Regions from separate parts of the Homo sapiens genome. Here region 1 is linked to region 2. The links are contacts of gene promoters, found by promoter capture Hi-C in human tissues and cell types (Jung and others, 2019). All regions are on one chromosome and are shown on one strand. Each heading gives the region's core, a stretch centred on a gene start or on the middle of the fragment in contact. The rest is flanking DNA. Distances are from core to core; before and after follow the strand shown.

Region 1 (3,318 bases), core at 652-3,151, 270 kb after region 2:
TGCTTGAATCAAGCAGTTGCTGAGCACCTACTATGTGCCAATCCCTGTTCTATATCTTGGGATTTTGTCAGTGAGTAACACAAAAATGCCTCCCCTCAGGGTGCTTACGTTCAAGGGGGGTGAGCGAGGTGTTTGATTGAATAGGTAAATTTTGCAGTCTGTTAGGTTGCAATAGAGCAGAGGCGTGCAGAGGACGTGCCAGGGTGGGGGCTGCAATATTAAACAGGGAAGTCGGGAAGACCTTCCTTGGAAGGTGATGTTTAAGCAGGATTTGAAGGTCATAGCACCTGGCACCCTCTAGGCATCATTGGCTCATCAGTGACCCCTCAGAGGTGGAGCTTGACCACTTTCTTTTCCTAGTGCCCAACGCTGGACCTCCGTAAAGTCCGATGAGTGTGGGAGGTGTGGATGGACACCAGAGATGCATACCCTGCCCTAGAATCACCTGCCATCCATAGAGGAGAAAAAGGAGCCGACTCTTGATTTCTAAACTCCAGTGGAACCCAAAAAGCGTTGATCTTTCAAATCCTGAGGGAGGTTAGAGGAACCGCCCCTCTGTCTCCTTTAGGATCTCCGAAGAAGGTTCTGTTTGTTGTCCTCCACGATTCTTGCCTTCTGTAAGAGCGGTTTGGCCTGGGACCTGGCCTCTTGTCCTCTTCCATGGCTCTGGGCTGGCCATTCCGCAGCATCTTTTAGAGCTGCCTCTTGACATCACCTGATTCAGCCAGAGAGGGCGGGGAAGCCGAGGTGACTGGGAGGGTGGACACACTGTGGGGCCGGTCGTGTTTGGGGTGGGTGTTCAGAAACAGTTGCCCAGTTCCAAAGCACTGCCTCTGTGACACCCAGGCCCTTCCCTGCCGCATCCATTCAGATGTGGATGGGGTAGGAGAAGCCCGCCAGGCAGGTTTCCCTGGACGGTGTTTCTGCTGTGAAAGGAGCCCTGTAGTTTTCCGTATCTGGGAAACATGCATTGGATAGACCATCTTCTGGAAGGAGAGATGGGGGCAAGAGGCAACCTGCTTCCATGTCTATAAATAAAATGCATTCATTTTGGTGCTAAAATGTTGTGGTTTTAAAAATGGAATACTAAAAACTTCCTGGCCCAAGCTGGAGTGGCAAGAAGCACAGATTCAGTTGATCCCAGGATGGGAACTGAAATTTACACTAAGCCACATCTACTGGACGATTGGTGCCCATCCTGGAGATGCAGAAGGAAGCCTTTGGTTTTGCACCTGTGCTTCCCATTCCAGCATTCATCTCTGTCCAGGGTCCTGCCCTGCATTGGAGATCAGGGAGGACTGAGGAGGTGGCCTGGAGGAGCTCCAGGTCTGCTGCCTAGGAAGGGTTTCCAGGACCTTGCAGGGAAATACCTGATGTTAGCCAGGGAAGAGAATTCCAGACAAAGGGAAGCATATGCAAAGGCCCTGAGGCATGAAGCTGGAGGCCCTCTTGGGGAACCGTGTGCGTTGTAGGGTTTGGGGAGAGACGGGTGCCCAGCAGGTGAGGTCAGAGACAAGGATGAAGCAAGAACATGGAGCTCTTTGTACCCAGAGCAGAGGAGTTGGACTTTCTCCAGAAGGGAGTGGAGAGCCATTATCAGAAGTGACTCACCTGGATTTTTGCTTTGGAAAGATCAGCCTGGAGGAATTGGAGGGTGGAGTGGGAGAGAAGGTGCCTGGAGGTAAGGAGACCAAGAGCTGATGGGGATGAGGGGTAAGGTAGGACAAGGCTTGCACCATCTCCAGCATTTGCAAAACTTGGGGAAATGTATTTTCAGCCCCTTAGAGTTGTCCTCATTTCACACACCCATCCTTTTTGTTCAGAACACCAATTGATTTTTAAAGTGTGTTATCCTTTATTTACTTTAGAGACAGAAAACACAGAGAGAGTGACTTCTCCGGGTTGCAAATTGTCAGTGATGGAGCCAGGATTAAGAACTCGGGCTGGCCAGCCCTCTGTGGATCGTATGATGTTTATGTATACGATGCCCATTCACTCTTCTGCCCTGCCAGCAAACAGAGCTGATGAATATGAGGAGAATGGCAGCGAAGAGCTTGTTTCCATTCTAAAAAGGCAAGAAGCCTAGGAAGGCTCATTAGGAGAAAATATTGAATGGGCAGCTTTCGAGTTTCACCTGTGATCTGAGAGGGAAAGTGTATTTTCACCGAAGCCATTATGTAACTGGTTCCGGGGGGCAGAGAGGAGTGACCAGAGAAGAGAATGAGGGCAAGAGACCAGGAGAGCAAAGACAGGGTCACCATCTAGAGGGCAGGGGCTACATCTGACATCCCCTGTAGACCCTCTGGATGCAGCCAAGGTTTAGAGGTTAGAGCACTGCTTTCATATCAGACGAGTGGAATTAGGATTGCAGCGGTGTGTCCTTGGACAAAGCACTGATCCTCTCTGGCCCTCAATTTTCTTGTTTATGAAATGGGAATAATACCACTAACCTTACCAGTTTTTGTGGGTGGATGGAGATATATAAAACCTACTTTTAGAAGGCATGATATATAGTAAACGTTCAGTGCTTTATAGGTGATTTCCAAATCATCTGTAGTAACTATGGCTTTTTTACAAGCATGGAAATAATGTGTGTTTATTTAAAAAAAAAAGAAACTATTACTAAAAAGCATAAAGAAGAAAGTAGAAAATATTCAAATCCTACCACTCAGAGATAGCCACCCATCACATCCAGGCATGTGCACCTCCTCCCTTTCTCCTCCACATGTACAAATATGTACATATTTTGAAGCCAAAAACAAAATGTGATAATGCCATATATGAAATTTGGAACTTATCTCTTTTCATTTAACAATATCTGGTGGGTATTATTTCAGGTCAGAAAATATGATTTTAGGCCAGGTGCAGTGGCTCACGACTGTAATCTCAACATTTTGGGAGGCTGAGGTGGGCGGATCACTTGAGGTCAGGAGTTCGAGACCAGCCTGGCCAACATGGTGAAACTCCATCTCTACTAAAAATATAAAAATTAGCTAGGCATGATGGTGGGCAGCTGTAATCCCAGCTACTCGGGAGGCTGAGGCAAGAGAATCTCTTGAACCCAGGATGGGGAGGTTACAGTGAGCGAGACTCTGTCTCAAATATATGTATCATATATATCACATATATATGATATATATATCATATATATGATATGTGATATATATGATATATATCATATATATGTGATATATGTGATATATATGATATATATCATATATGTGATATATATATGATATATATGATATATATATGATATATATGATATATATGACATATATGATATATATGATATATATGATATATATGTGACATATA
Region 2 (3,364 bases), core at 828-3,327:
TCCAGCCTGGGCAACAGAGTGAGACTCCATCTCAAAATAATAATAATAATAATAATATTGCATTATTTCTTCCATTACTCTCATTGGTGGCCCTGGAACTGCCAGCAGCAAATCTAAAATCTTAGAATTTCAGGGCTTGGTGGGACTTCAGAGATCTGAGGTCACCCTGCCCCAGTCTCCCTGCTTGATTGGCACTTCTCACAAAGGTCTGTGGGCCATAAAGGAGGGTGTGAAGGCAGGCTGTGGGTGTCAGGGAGGGGTAGAAACCAGGTGCCTGTGTGATTCAGAAGCCGGGATCACTGTAGGTGAGGGTGCCCTGGGAGTGGAGGACCCCAGGACGTAACCGCCCCAGGCTCATGTCAGAAGGATACACAGCTGCACTGAAGCAAGCGTGAGCCGCAGGCTGGATCCAGGGTACCCCTTGAGGAGCAGAGCTTGGGAGCTCCTCTTGGACCTCCCCAGCCTGGTCCCTCCTGCCCACCCCCTCCCCCAACCACCAGACACTAGGCTTTGAGGATTGCTGTGAGCATTTTAGAACAAAACCTTTTTTTAAAAAGAGGGATGAGGCCAGGGATGGTGGCTCATGCCTGTAATCTCAGCACTTTGGGAGGCTGAGATGGGCAGATCACTTGAGCCCAGGAGTTCAAGACCAGCCTGGACAACATGGTGAAACCCCATCTCTACCAAAAATTTAAAAATTAGCCGGGAATGGTGGCACATGCCTGTGGTCCCACCTACTTGGGAGGCTAAGGTGGGAGGATCGCTTGAGCCTGGGAGGCGGAGGTTGCAGTGAGCTGAGATGGCGCCACTGCACTCCAGTCTGGGCCACAGAACCACAGCCTGTCTCAAAAAACAAAACAAAACAAAAGGTCAGGGTTGGGAAACAGGGAAAGCTTCCAGGCTGGCCTCTGCAAAAGCTAGGGAGGGGCAATGGTGTCCCCCAGTTTGCAAGAGCCCATGGCGAGCTTTTCAGGAATTTTGCCAACTGGTTGTTAAATACAGCTATTATTAAAAATTGAATTACATCAACTTATGATTAAACGGGCTAAGTTCAAAACAGGCAATTTTTTAAAAAGCATGAACCTTCAGGGAAGAGCCAGGTAAACAAAGGCAGCTGGTACCACGTGGGCTTCAGACCAGGGATCAGGCCCGGCCTCAACTCTGGGTGTGTCCTCCAGCAACTCGCTCTGCCGCTCTCTCCTGTCTTAGTAAGTTTCTGGCCTACTCCTCAGGGTTATTGTGGGAATTAAGTCACACCACGGGAGTACCCAGCAAAGTGCCACACCAAGCAGGGCTGGACAATGTTAGTTCCTTTCACTCACTAACAAGTTATTGGCTAGTGTCTCTTCCTGGGGCCTCTGGGTCAGCGGGGTCTCGTCTCCCTGTCCTCCTCTCTCTCCCCCGCCCTCTCTGGTGCCACCAGGTCACCCACTTCCACCCAAGGCTCCCCACCCGCCACTCGCCACGACCCCACCCGGCAGGCCGCCCCAAGCGGACAGTCACCCTTAGTGCCAACGTAGCGGCGCGCCTTCTCTCCTAGACTAAGCCCCCTCTTCCGCCCAGGTCCCGCGCGGGAGCCCCGCGCCGAGCACCCCCAAAGAGCCACTCCCTCCCCCTCCAGAAAGGCAAGCCGCCACGCCGCGGCAGTTACCCGGGTCTCGGACTCCCGGCTTCCTGGCTCCGCCATGGCCCCCGCGGCGCGGCGCCCCCTCCCCGCGCCCGCAGCTGTCCCCTCCTCCCGCCACCAACCTGCAGCGGACCAAAGGGAGGAGACTCCGGCACAGCCCACCGCCGCGGCCACTCGGAGCCGCTGCTGCCCGCGCCTTCCACTGGCCGGGCCGTGGGGGTACGCCCGCTCCGCCCAGCCCAGGCCCGCGCGGCCCCCGCGCCACCCGGCGTCCCCCTCAGACCCCCGCGGGTCCCGGAGGCCCCGCGCGCGAGGTTGGCAGGTGCCGGGCGCGAAGCGGCCGCGCGGGGGAGGCGCGGGATGGCGGCGGGCGGCGCAGGGTCCCCCTCTGGCGGTGGCGCGATGGTGCGCGCCGCCTGGGGAGCTGCGGCCGGGGGTTTGAACCGGCCAACTTCTCCAGCCGGCCGGGGCGAGCGCCAGCGCGGCGTCCGGGGCGAGTGAGTGCGGGGCGGGGGCAGCGGCCGGGCGCCTGGGCCGCCGGTCGGGCCACCTGCTGCCCGGGGAAGGATAGCGTTGCGAGAGTGGGACGGGGTGCCCCGGGAACCCCTGATCCACCTAGGGCAGAGGGCAGCGAGCTACGGGCCGGACTCGGGCACTCTGGAGGCGGGCGAGCTCGGGCTGCCTGGGGAGGCCGCAGGCGATGGCGTGTGCGCGGCTCGCGGAGCTTCCTAGCCGTGCGCCCACCCCCTCTGCCTTGGAAGGAAAGGGGATTCTAAGCCCAAGATGCCATCGCCCCCCATCCCGGGCATGCTTTCATTGCTCTTTCCTGGCGGGATCGAGTACTGTAACTTCTAGGAGCCAGATCCCCGCCCCAGGAAGCGCCCCTACTTGGAGTCCTCGGAAACTCTTGCCCCACCCGCTTCTGCGCTGGGCCCCCGGGCCGGCTGGGAGGGGCGGGGCCGGCTTTCCAGAGGGAATCTGCAAACTTATCCCGCTGCACGCCCCAGCCTCGCTGGCTTGCTGTAAACAAGGAACCCGGGGGAGTGCGGAGGGAGAAAGAGCTTCTCCCAGGCCTCACCCTACTGCACACACCGACTTCCTTCCTCACGCCTGTCTCTCTTTCCTGGTTCCCACCCGTGCCAGGTGACACGCAGAGCTGAAGCCATGGTTCATCAGGTGCTCTACCGGGCGCTGGTCTCCACCAAGTGGCTGGCGGAGTCCATCAGGACTGGCAAGCTGGGGCCCGGCCTGCGGGTGCTGGACGCGTCCTGGTACTCACCAGGCACCCGAGAGGCCCGCAAGGAGTACCTCGAGCGCCACGTACCCGGCGCCTCTTTCTTTGACATAGAAGAGTGCCGGGACACGGCGTCGCCCTACGAGATGATGCTGCCCAGCGAGGCTGGCTTCGCCGAGTATGTGGGCCGCCTGGGCATCAGCAACCACACGCACGTGGTGGTGTATGATGGTGAACACCTGGGCAGCTTCTATGCTCCCCGGGTCTGGTGGATGTTCCGTGTGTTTGGCCACCGCACCGTATCAGTGCTCAATGGTGGCTTCCGGAACTGGCTGAAGGAGGGCCACCCGGTGACATCCGAGCCCTCACGCCCAGAACCGGCCGTCTTCAAAGCCACACTGGACCGCTCCCTGCTCAAGACCTACGAGCAGGTGCTGGAGAACCTTGAATCTAAGAGGTTCCAGCTGGTGGATTCAAGGTCTCAAGGGCGGTTCCTGGGCACC

The links. The method cuts DNA at HindIII sites, captures the fragments that hold promoters and counts their contacts. A contact is called where the count stands out against the background at its distance.
Region 1: a fragment that was not itself captured here is called in contact with the fragment with the promoter of TST in region 2 in 1 of the 25 tissues and cell types used here (lymphoblastoid cells).

Annotation. Positions count from the first base shown.
Region 1 is chr22:36,751,564-36,754,881 of GRCh38, reverse strand. The region is part of intron 2 of CACNG2-DT (CACNG2 divergent transcript); the gene reads right to left. Among named protein-coding and RNA genes, the nearest start is that of IFT27, 23 kb to the left of the region's middle. The HindIII fragment of the contact is 5,414 bases long and covers 1-3,318 here.
Region 2 is chr22:37,018,160-37,021,523 of GRCh38, reverse strand. TST (thiosulfate sulfurtransferase) reads left to right here and starts at 2,077. Exons shown (of 3, transcript NM_003312.6): 1 at 2,077-2,124; 2 at 2,771-3,364. The coding sequence starts at 2,792. MPST (mercaptopyruvate sulfurtransferase) reads right to left here and starts at 1,782. Exons shown (of 3, transcript NM_021126.8): 1 at 1,652-1,782. The coding sequence starts at 1,687. RefSeq lists silencers at 1,466-1,785, 1,796-1,915, 1,946-2,335, 2,496-2,555 and enhancers at 2,029-2,530, 2,559-3,364. The HindIII fragment of the contact is 8,246 bases long and covers 1-3,364 here.